Regions from separate parts of the Homo sapiens genome. Here regions 1 and 3 are each linked to region 2. The links are contacts of gene promoters, found by promoter capture Hi-C in blood cells and fetal thymus (Javierre and others, 2016). All regions are on one chromosome and are shown on one strand. The core of a region is centred on a gene start or on the middle of the fragment in contact, and the rest is flanking DNA. Distances in the headings are between cores, read along the strand shown.

What was found. Contacts are between HindIII fragments. The CHiCAGO score rates a contact against its expected background, and 5 or more counts as called.
Region 1: a fragment that was not itself captured here is called in contact with the fragment with the promoter of PIK3CB in region 2 in 1 of 17 cell types (neutrophils); the score reaches 6.3 in neutrophils.
Region 3: a fragment that was not itself captured here is called in contact with the fragment with the promoter of PIK3CB in region 2 in 1 of 17 cell types (neutrophils); the score reaches 5.6 in neutrophils.

Annotation. Positions count from the first base shown.
Region 1 is chr3:139,378,036-139,382,210 of GRCh38, forward strand. COPB2 (coat protein complex I subunit beta 2) reads right to left here. Exons shown (of 22, transcript NM_004766.3): 3 at 1,345-1,431; 4 at 1,012-1,138; 5 at 6-154. Among named protein-coding and RNA genes, the nearest start is that of COPB2, 9.5 kb to the right of the region's middle. The HindIII fragment of the contact is 7,183 bases long and covers 1-4,175 here.
Region 2 is chr3:138,832,393-138,836,451 of GRCh38, forward strand. It overlaps PIK3CB (phosphatidylinositol-4,5-bisphosphate 3-kinase catalytic subunit beta), which reads right to left and starts at 2,536. Exons shown (of 24, transcript NM_006219.3): 1 at 2,303-2,536. RefSeq lists a silencer at 2,033-2,772. The HindIII fragment of the contact is 25,969 bases long and covers 1-4,059 here.
Region 3 is chr3:138,166,597-138,170,384 of GRCh38, forward strand. It overlaps DBR1 (debranching RNA lariats 1), which reads right to left. Exons shown (of 8, transcript NM_016216.4): 4 at 3,511-3,596; 5 at 485-709. Among named protein-coding and RNA genes, the nearest start is that of DBR1, 6.4 kb to the right of the region's middle. The HindIII fragment of the contact is 4,308 bases long and covers 65-3,788 here.

The DNA.
Region 1 (4,175 bases), core at 673-3,172, 550 kb after region 2:
CCTACCTTGATAGTCCTGTCCAAAGAGGCACTGGCAAACTGATTGTTATCTTTGGGGTTGATCACAATCTGCATAACATAATGGGTGTGTCCTTCAAACACTTGTGAGCAAGACCATTTTTTATCCCAGTCCCAGAGCTTAATAAGCATGTCATCTAGGCCAAAAGAAAGTCTCAAGTTAGTTGTAATTCTATTTTTTCACTTCATAACTAAGACACAGTCTTTAGAAGAAGCAAACCTAACACAAACCATATAATCCATGACTTACAGAAATAGAATCAAAACCAAATAGAGTTTTCAAAATGCTTATTTATCTTAAAAATAAATTTAACTCTCTACAGAAAAGTGGAGATAAAATAAATAAAATAGATTAGAAATAGAAAATATAAAAATTCTGTGAAAAAACTTAAAAATTCAGTGGGCATTAAAGAATGGCCAAAGAGTAATATAAGTTTGACTAGATCTAAGCATGACTGAATAGTGATAGCAATGACTATGTAGAGAACAAGCATTTGCCCTCACAAGATTGGTTTTTAAAAAGTTTTTAATTACTTCTCAATTTTTAATTTAAAAACATTTCAAAGAGCTATTACTAATTCAGTGCTACCTCTTTTTCCAGTCCTCCAAGAGGTCTACTATTTATACACAATACCAAGGAGCAAACTAGTTTGAATATAAAGATTGAACTGAATAGGGTCTATGGCAATCTGCCAAAAACTCACTCATCAACATGTAAATGACCTTTCTGTTCAGCAGATGTTTAAACATCTAGACTTGTAGGTCTTCTCTGACAGGAACTGGAGCAATCATTACACAAATCCTAAGTACAGTTGATATTTCATTATAGTACAAACACAAGCAGCATCAATAGCACAGTAATGGATCTAAATAGTTTAAAGGCCGCTTGGAATTAGAATTATATTTGTAACAGCAGTTAAAGCATAGCATGTCTCAGTGAATGAAAATGAATTACCCAAAGAGACGCACATGACCAAAAAAGGTCATCTCTTACCACTGCTAGTTAGAATGAAAGGCTGGGTTGGATGAACAGCAATACAGCGAATGTAGTCTGAGTGTGCTTCAAACATATGAACTCTCTCCAGAGTATTGTAATTGAACACTCTAATCTGCATGTCATCCTAGAAACAGAAATTTTAAAACCATCATCCCTGTTATCAAGTAAATTATACAAAAAAACTATATCACAGGCTCAAGGAATAAAGTCTATGCCTCAAAACATTGCTGTAAATAACAAAACAAATCGGGAATCAAAATCCTGCAACAAATTTACACAATCATTGACCAATTCAGAAAATGGGAATAGAGATTCATATTAATTACTTACCGCTCCTGTCACAACCCAATTCTTCCTTGCAACAAACTTTGCAGCTCGAACAGGAAGATCACATACTTCAAATGTCTTCACCAGTGTCTTTAAAATGTAACAAGAATACACAAATTGAGCTATAAGAAAATAACCACAAAATCTACTCTGTTATATTTCAAACATCCAATTTTTAAGATCACTTCTCATTTTAGTATATTCTCAGGCTAAAATATAAAAGCTCAACATTCAAATTTTTAAAAAAGACCAACTATCTTTTAATAGATTCGAAATTAAAACACTTTTTAAAAGATAAGAGAAGGCAAATATCCACAAGATGGTATTCCAGATCCTCTGTGCTCCAGCCCTTCCCTCCCTTTTCCAGCCTCACCTTTGGCTACTCCCAGCCTCACCTCTGCTCTTGTTGTCTCTGACTTGAAAATCCACCCATGGAAACTTGTACTTCCCTTTCATAATGTAGCACCTCATAATTATGTTTAGTGCCAATCTTTCCTGCTAAGCTCTCCAAAGGCAGGAATATTTTTCACACTGTATAGGCAGAGGATAGAACAGTGGCTGGCACACAAGTAGTGTGTAATAAATATTTGTTGAATGAATTAGCTCTTAGTTTCTTTTTTTCTTTTCTTTTTTTTTTTTTTTTTTTTTTTGAGACAGTCTTACTCTGTCACCCAGGCTGAAGTGCAGTACAGTGGCACAATCTTGGCTCACTGCGACCTCCGCCTCCCAGGTTCAAGTGATTCTCATGCTTCAGTTACCCAAGTAGCTGGGATTACAGGTGTGCACCACCATGCCAAGCAAATTTTTGTATTTTTCGTACAGACGGGGTTTCACCATGTTGGCCAGGGTAGTCTCGAACTCCTGGCCTCAAGTGATCCACCCGTCTCAGCCTCCCAAGTGCTGGGATTACAGGCGTGAGCCACTGCACCTAGTCAGTCTTTTTGAAATTGAAACCCATAAAAGTGACTCATGAATAAGGTACAATTCTTTTGCATGCTTTAGCAATATGATTCCATACAAATGTTATTATTTCTTTTTAATAAAATATGAAAACACCGTGACTTATATGTTCCTCCGAGCTGCTCAGAATGGAATTATACACATAGGATAAAGGTAGAGACCCTCCTAGAAAGAGCAGAGATCATGGTACCTCTTTGTTCTCCTTCTTTGATGCCTGTTCTTAAAAGTCTGAAAGTCAAACTATCATTTTCTAATCCTTTTTTGTATCAGAGAGCAAAAATGAAATAACTAAGAAACACAATATAATCTTACTGATTGATTAACCATGTGCACTAAAAAAGTAATAGGGACCGGTTCATAAGAACTGTCCTACTCTGACTTTTCAAGCCAGAGTTCAAAGATTCTTTAGACAAAGGCTGAATGAGTAGGCACTTCAACTCTAACCTGTAGAATCACTACCAGCTGACTATGATACAGAAACTGAGAGTAGACACAACATGCGATCTATAACACGGCAGAAAAATCCACAAAAGCTCATGAGGAGCCAACAAATCCAGGGATCTGCTGAGCAGTAAAAATAAAGCAGCTGCAGAAGAAATAGCCAAGGTTCAACGCCATGTTAGGGGCTATGACTGATGCAAATAAAGAGTAAGAAAAGCTACACACACAATACATACAAATACTCAACGTAGATTAGGAAAGTATAACTAATGACTAATACTTATATGGTACTTTATAGGTTTCATACACAATTTTATCTAATTTTATTTTATCTTTTTGACAATCCTGTGATGTAGGCAAGGCAATAATATCATCTTCACTTCAGATAAATAAAGAGGCTCAGCATGGTTAAAAGGCTTGCCTATATAATTTAATCAGCAAGTTGGCTTCAAATCCTAAAATACTATGTTTTTTAAACCACTGCATGTACCACCTCAAAGAATATATAGCATCTCCTTATTTGAAATTCAAGTACATCTAAAAACCTTTTTACTTCCAAAAACCTTTTTGGCTCTCTCAAGAATTTGCTCTCAATATAGGAGTGGTAAATGCTGTTGGTGATATAAACACAGGGAAAAAACAGGGAGAATCAAAGACAGATTAATCATTCAACAAAGACTTACTATCTACCAGGAGCCTGACAGTGTATCAGGTAGTGCCTCATGCACTGGACCAACAGTGGGAAATAAGATGAGGGTAATCCTTGTCCTCACAGAACCTCCATTCTTAGAGGAAAGAAGGAAATTAAACATGAAATTACCACTGAGATGAATTATGAAAGGGGAAGCAGATGGTCCTGTCATAGGGCAGAAAAAGGTATAGAAGAGAAAAAGGAGGCAAAGTGGAAATGCAGATAAAGCAGAGATATATTACAATAAAGCCTAGAGAAAGATAAGAAAAGTACGCCTGGGCTTTAGAACATACGATGATCAAGTGATAGAGCTGAGATAGGTAAATGTAGCTGATAAGAGGGAATCCCTAGGAATAATCAGAGAGAGAGGACACCAACGTATCTGTTAAACATAAAATCAGAAATATTTTAAACATCTCAAGAACTAAACAAAAAGCAAAAAAAAAAAGTTATTTGCATCAAAGCAAAAACAATTCACAAGATAAAGATCTGAAATTGTAGAGAACACAAATACTGAACTAGTGATAAGTGAAATGCATATTATTCATTGGTTGAACAAATAATTATTGAGCATTTACTATGTGCCAGGTAATGTTATAGGTACTGAGATACAGCAGAAAACAAAATGTTAATTTATATAAAATGTCACTGATGGACTATGATATGGTTTGGATTTGTATCCCCACCCAAATCTCATGTCAAATTGGAGGAGGACCCTGGTGGGAGGTGATTGGATCATGGG
Region 2 (4,059 bases), core at 1,286-3,785:
TTAAGATTTTTACTTTCGGCCGGTCGCGGTGGTTCATGCCTGTAATCCCAGCATTTTGGGAGGCCCAGGCTGGCGGATCATTTGAGCCCAGGAGATCAAGACCAGCCTGGCCAACATGGCAAAACCACCTCTCTACCAAAAATACAAAGATTGGGCCGGGCGCGGTGGCTTCCTCCTGTAATCCCAGCAGTTTGGGAGGCCGAGGCGGGCGGATACCTGAGGTTGGGAGTCCGAGACCACCCTGACCAACATGGAGAAACCCCGTCTCTACCAAAAAAAGTACAAAATTAGCCGCGTGTGGTGGCACATGCCTGTAATCCCAACTACTCGGGAGGCTATGGCAGGAGAATCGCTTGAACCCGGGAGGCGGAGGTTGCGGTGAGCTGGAGATCGCGTCATTGCACTCCAGCCTGGACAACAAAAGCGAAACTCCGTCTCAAAAAAAAAAAAAAAAAAACAAAATTGAAAGATTGGCCAGGCGTGGTGGCACGCCCCTGTAGTCTCAGCCACTAGGGAGCCTGAGGCAGGAGGATCGCTTGAACCCAGGAGGCGGAGGTTGCAGTGAGCCAAGATGGCGACATTGCACTCCAGCCTGGGCGACAGACCGAGACCCTGCCTCAAAAAACAACAATAATTTTTTTTTAAAAAAGAAGCAAGATTCGGTCTCAAAAAGATTTTTTTTTTTTCTTTTTGAGACAGGGTATCCCTCTGTTGCCCAGGCTGGAGTCCAGTGGTGCCATCTCGGCTCACTGCAACCTCCGCCTCCCGGGTTCAAGGGATTCTCCTGCCTCAGCCTCCCAAGTAGCTGGGATTACAAGCGCCCGCCACCACGCCCTGCTAATTTTTGTGTTTTTGGTAGAGACGGGGTTTCACCATGTTGCTTGGGCTGGTGTCGAACTCCTGGAATCAATTGATCCGCCCGCCTCGGCCTCCCAAAGTGCTGGGATTACAGGCGTGAGCCAACGCACCTGGTCAGAAAAAAGACTTTACTTTCTTCCATACCTGCATTCTGAAACTGGGTTAAGATCCTTATCTGACCACCCTTTCCTGTGCTACATTATTATGACTTAAACAGTTCTGCTTTTACCATAAAATCTTACAATGTAGCATAAAAATCCCCAAATGATTAATGAACTGCTGAGACCTCTGACTCGTTGGAGACAATTTTATTACGAATCATATCTCCAAACTTCCATTCAGTGCTTCAAAATAAGTACTCATTTAATTATCATGACTTCACCAGACAGTCACACTGCCCACAATGATGTTTACAAAAGCACTTGTCACTCCCTTTGGATGTAGCAATGCAGAAAAAAGAGTCTGTTTCCATACTCTTCGTGTGTTTATAACTCTGTAACAAGTGGCAGAGTTCAAGTGTCACTTGAGATGAAACAGCAAAGCACTTCAAGTTTACGTCCCACCATCTTTCATCCTAAGCGAATCCCGAATTTGCTCGGTTTCATTTCAGCAGTAATTCCCACTCAGTACCTGAGACAGGGTTCCAATTCAGCCCTGCGGGAAGAGACTGCAGGATTCTAGTAAGGGACTATAGGATTCTATTTTGGCCACTGCGAGGTTAACAGGCTCCAATATTAAGCAACTCCAGTATCGGTTACTGCAACACCAGAGCAGATCGGAAATAAATGTGCCCCCAAACGCACGCCAGCAGCCAGGAATTAGCAATAGCTAACACGAGATGCTGCAGCAGGGGTATCATTTACTTAGCACTTGTTCAGTTATGCCTAACCTCACAACAACCTTATGGTGTATGTATTATTATTTCCATTTAACACATCAGGATATTTTGGCCCAAGGCCCCAGGACTGGTCAGCAGCGGCGTTGGGATTCGAAAACATGTCCATAACCTAATAACCCTGGGTCCACGCCTCTGAAATACACTTCTGCGCAAAAAGGCACCTGAGGGTCGGGAAGTTCCGGAGGTGTCCGCATAGACGCGGGGCGCGAGTACGCCGTCTCTCCACAGAAACGCCCCTCAGGAACGGGACCCAAAGCGACAGTGACCCGGGACGCCCGGCAGCGTCTCTGCCGCCCAGGGGCCGGGGGGCGCCACTCACCTTGGAGAGCCCAGGGCGGGCCGCAACCAAGCCAGACGCCCCCACCGGCCGGTAGGCGGTTATCCTCCAAGCTGGCAGGAAGCGCGGTGCAACCACAAGAGTCGCCAGCGCCGCAGGTAGCGGCAAGCTAGAACGCACCGCCAGCACGCCCGGGGGCACCGCAGCCGGCGCCGCGACCCAGCCGCCCCTCAGCCGCGCCGCATCCGGGTCCCGGCCGCCGCACTCACCTGCCTGGCGTTCCGCCGCCGCCGCCTGCTACTATTCCAAGTGCGCAGTCAGCAGCCCAGGCCGCCGCAACCGCTCCACTCCGGCGCCCCCATCCCTGCCTCTCTCGATCACCTCCCGCCTGCCCCGCGCAGCACTACACTCGCCCCCTCCCCACTGCCATGGCCCGCTCCGCCGCAGCGCCGCACAGGCCGACAGAGCACGCGCGCGCCGCCGCCGAACCCGCGCCCGTGTGCGCGCGCGCCAGCCTCTCAGGCCTGCATCCCAGCAGCCCCCGCCCCGCCCTGCGCCGCCCTCGGGCCAATCCCGGGCCCCGCGGTGGCGGCGGCGGCGGCGGCGGCAGTTGGGCTGGCAGGGTGTGGGGAGAGGCCTCACTGCCGATTCCTCTACCGTTGCCAGCCCGGCTGCGACGCTGCTGCACGGCCTTTCCTAACTCTCTTTGCGACTCCCAGAGGACTGCGGAATAGGGAATCCCCGGCAAGTCGCCTTCAGGAGAGACCCATCACCCGCTGCGGCCTCCATAACCTCCTCCCGAGAGATTCCGCTCTTCCTAGGTTCCTTGCTGGCCTTTTCTTCCCAGCCCTTCTCCCTGTTCTGCGACATGGACTGACTCCTAAATTCTTGGACGCAGCACTTATTTTTTTCCCGATACCCGTCTCCGTCTTTCACTCCCTTTGTGAGGATAGGGCGCTAGCTCGGCTGCCTCACAGCTGGCCCTTCAGTCCCTACACTGTGAATGGTTGTTTCTAGGGAAAAGTCCAGGCTTTCAAGCCCAAGATTCTTGTTCTTTGTTCAATTTTGCAGTAACAACACCTAACATTTGTCTGCAGAGCCTTAAACTTTACCCCTTTTTGCCTACCTTGTTTCCTGTTACCTTTGACCCCAACCGCGAAAAATCACAGTCCTCTTTCTAGTGGGACACTTAAATTTTACTTACTGAAAACCAACATTTTAACTCACTCCAAAGCTAGTATATTCTAACGTAATGCTCCTATATTACCCTGGACAAATAGTTGAGTAGTCAGGGATAAAATCTAGAAGTACAACATAATAAAAAGCAAACGTGACAAATCAATTAAGTGACAAACCAATAGTTTATTTGAGAAATGATCCTAGTTTTTTTATTTTTTATTTATTTACTTATTTTGAATGAGAGTTTCGCTACTGTTGCCCAGGCTGGAGTGCAATGGCGCGATCTTGGCTCACCGCAACTCTGCGTCCCCCGGTCAAGCGATTCTCCTGCCTCAGCCTTCCTGAGGATTACAGGCATGCGCCACCACGCCTGGCTAATTTTGTATTTTTAGTAGAGACGGGGTTTCTCCACGTTGGTCAGGCTGGTCTCGAACTCCCGACCTCAGGTGATCAGCCCGCCTCGGCCTCCCAAAGGGCTGGGATTACAGACATGAGCCACCGTGCCCGGCCAATGATCCTGGTTTTAATTGACTTTCGATTTAAAGCAAGAACATTGAAAAATAAATTCCAGAAGAGGCTGTAATACCAACACTTTGGGAGGCCGAGGTGGGCAGATCACTTGAGCCCAGGAGTTCACACCTAGCCTGGGCAATATGGCGAGACTGACAAAAATGACGTGAGTGTGGTGATGTGCATCTGTTGTCCCAGCTACTTGGGAGACTGAGGTGGGAGGATAATATGAACCCAGGAAGTCGAGGGAAGTCGAGGCTGGTGTGAGTCGAGATAGCACGGTAGCACCACTGCACTCCAGCCCGGGAAATAGAGCAAGACCCTGTCTAGGAAAAAA
Region 3 (3,788 bases), core at 969-3,468, 670 kb before region 2:
TCATCTTTGGTTAAAATCATAACTCCAGAGCATGGCCCCTAGAAGGCAGTTATGATCTTGTTCAAGCTTCATCAGTCCCTATGCCTTAGTCCCACAGGAACTACCTACAAGTCCCCAAACACCCCATGCTCTCAGACCTCGAGCCTCTGCACATGCCAGTCCCTCTAAATAAAATACCCTTACAATGTGTTTCTTCCTGGCACTTCAAGACTCAGTTCAGCTATCACCTTTTGAAAACCTTCTCTATCTTCATCTCCCATGTTCCCATCCCACCACAGTCTGGCTTAGGTGCTCCCACTGCCTACGTTTTCTCTCAAACTTATTATACTGTTTTGTAATTGCTTGTCTTTCCCAGAATCATATATTGAGCTACTCACAAGAGGTAAGTTATCTTTTACTTCTTTCTCTAACTTTACAACTGTGTCTGGTCCATAGATGTTCAATAGTGTGTGTTAAATGAAAGAATAAACATTTTGTTTTCTACCTGATGCTGCATCAAGGCGGCAAACTTCACATGAAGGTGGGCAGAAAACCAATAAGTAGGTTTGAGATGCTCTAAAAGCTCTGAGGCAGCTGGACTTCCTAATGTGTTATTTTCCACTTCTTGTCGGAAAAAAGATTTAGTCTTAAGAAGTTGCTTCTTATTTCCATAATGATATATACTTCTTGGCCAATCATGAGACAAGAATATATCTATAGGCTGCTTCAGCTTTCAAAAGAGAAAAAGAGAAAGAAAGAAAACTCTTAAAACAGATTAACCAAAACAATCCCCTCCCTTCTCTCTACCACCATACAACCATTCACCCACTGAGATCTCTAGAATTCTGTATAATTCATTCTAAGGACACTTTAAGAGAGTGATAAAAATACTAGGCAACTCATTCATCTAGGCAAAGAGAAGCTGCATTTTCTCTGCTCATAAATCATTCTTATTTTCAGTGGCAAGGCAAGGCAATGGAGACAGACTCTGATTAGACTGCCAGTCATCTAAGATCTTTAGCACTTAGCTTCTAAAATACACGATAACCATAGTTCTTTTCCTCTTTGGTAAAGAAATTATTATTTTGGGCCGGGCGCGGTGGCTCACGCCTATAATCCCAGCACTTTGGGAGGCTGAGGCAGGTGGATCACCTGAGGTTAGGAGTTCGAAACGAGCCTCACCAACATGGTGAAACCCCATCTCTACTAAAAATACAAAAATTTAGCTGGACGTTGTGGCATCTGTCTGTAATCCCAGCTACTAGGGAGACTGAGGCAGGAGAATCGCTTGAACCCAGGAGGTGGAGGTTGCAATAAGCCGAGATCATGCAATTGCACTCCAGCCTGGGCCACAAGAGTGAAACTCCATCTCAAAAAGAAAAAAAAGAAAAAAGAAATTACTGTTTTGAAGATCCAGAGACACTAGATTTCACGAGACCTCTAACATGACTGATTCAGTAAACCCAAAGATTTACCAGGAAAAAAAAAATTCTAATAGGCTCACATAGTATACACTAAAAAACTGTGTTTACTACATAAATTAGTATTTCATTAAACAACTTAAGGAAACAAAATATACTCCAGACTTTACTTATCCCCAGAACCTTCAAGTAATCTGAAACGAATACTTGAAAAATGAAATTAAAACAACTTAAATACCGGCTGGGCACAGTGGCTCACGCCTGTAATCCCAGCACTTTAGGAGGCCGAGGTGGGTGGATCGCCTGAAGGTCAGGAGTTCGAGACCAGCCTGGCCAACATGGTGAAACCCCATCTTTATTTAAAATACAAAAAATTAGCCGGGCGTGGTGGTGGGCGCCTGTAATCCCAGCTACTCAGGAGGCTGAGGCAGGAGAATCGCTTGAACCCAGGAGGCAGAGGTTGCAGTGAGCCAAGATCGCACTGTTGCACTCCAGCTTGGGCAACAGAAGTGAAACTTTGTCTCAAAAAAAAAAAAAAAAACTTAAATAACTGCTCAAGACAATACAAAATATTAGATATTAGATAGATATGACTAACCACTGAATAACTGGTATGGCCAACAGATGCAACAAAAATTCAAACTAGGGTAATGACTCTAAACTAGAGAAGTCATGGCTGGCTGGGCATGGTGGCTCATGCCTGTAATCCCAGCACTTTCGGAGGCCAAGGCAGAAGGATCGCTTGAGTTCAAGAGTTTGAGACCAGCCTGGGCAACATGGCGAAACTCTGTCTCTAAAAAATATGAAAAAAATTAGCTGGGCGAGGTGATGCATGCCTATAGTCCAAGCTATTCGGGAGGCTGAAGTGGGAGGATCACCCAAGCCTGGCAGATTGAGGCTGCAGTGAGTCAAGCCATGATCATACTACTGCACTCCAGCCTGGGTGACAGAGTGAGACCTTGTCTCAAAAAAAAAAAAGAAGAAAACTCATGGTTGGGAAATGGCATCTAAGTTGGGTCTTAAAGGACTGGTAGGATTTAGATAGGTGAAAGAGAAAATCTATTTAAGGGAACTGTATGCACAGGGCATAAAAGAAACACTTGCAAGAATTGTTAGACTCCTGCAGAGGCTCTAGAGACAGTGTGATGGGCATGAGTGCAGTCAGGCAGGCTCTACCACTAAACTTTGGGAAGTCCTGGGCAGGTTACTTACCTGTCTGAGCCTTGGCTTCTCATCCTTAAAGGGATGAAGTTAAGAGTTACATCTATTTCATAGGGTTTGAGTGGAGATTATATGAAATACCAAGTGTGAAGTCTGTTTAGCCCAGTGTCAGCCATGTAATGGGTTCTCAAACAACCTAGTTTCACCTACTCTGCAATTAAGCAGTGTTTCCATACCACCTTCACAATTTTCCCATTTCCTCTATCATCTTTACTATTACTTATTTTCTATTTAATACCATTACTTAATTACTATTACATAAAATAAAATGTTTATTTCAATATTTTCTTTAAAATATCACTTTAACATTTTATTTTAAATATCACTTTAATAGGTATTCTTTAGCCTTAACCTAAGTAATATTTGAAATCATGAATTAAATCTTTCATTCTTACTAAAATAAACTCGTAATTATTGAAGTAAAAAAAATTTTGCCGGGCACAGTGGCTCACACCTATAATCCCAGCACTTTGGGAGGCCAAGGCAGGCGGATCACCTGAGGTCAGGAATTTGAGACCAGCCTGGCAAACATGGTGAAACCCCATCCCTACTACAAATACAAAAAATTAGGCAGGTGTGGTGGTGTGCGCCCATAGTTCCAGCTACTCAGAAGGTTGAGGCACAAGACTTGCTTGAACCCAGGAGGCGGAGGTTGCAGTGAGCCGAGATCGCGCCACTGCACTTCAGCCTGGGTGACATAGTGAGACTCTGTCTCAAAAAAAGAAAAAAAAAAGGTTCATCTGTGAACCTCCTAAAAACTCAAGATCCACATTTTAAAAATACAGAATTGCTCTTCTTGAAAGTAGTATACCAATATGACCAAAATACATTTTGGCACAGAATTACTTTAAAATGTTTTCAAGTCTGCTGTAATGCGCTTTTTACGTACCTGTTTTAATTTATAGACTTCAATATTTCTCACATGATATATACTCCTGATTGTAGATGAATTATAAGGGGGGCACTCAAAATGACCTTAGATTGAAGCAGAAAAATAAGCTATATTTAATTTCCTTAAATACTGCAAATACAAAGACATATACACAGGTCTCCAAAATATCATGTACACCTTCAATATATACGATTTTAAAAAGTTATCTAGGGAAATTTTTTAAAAAGATGGTGGACTGCAGTCTCCTTCCTTTGCAGGCTCAAATAAGGGTGTAT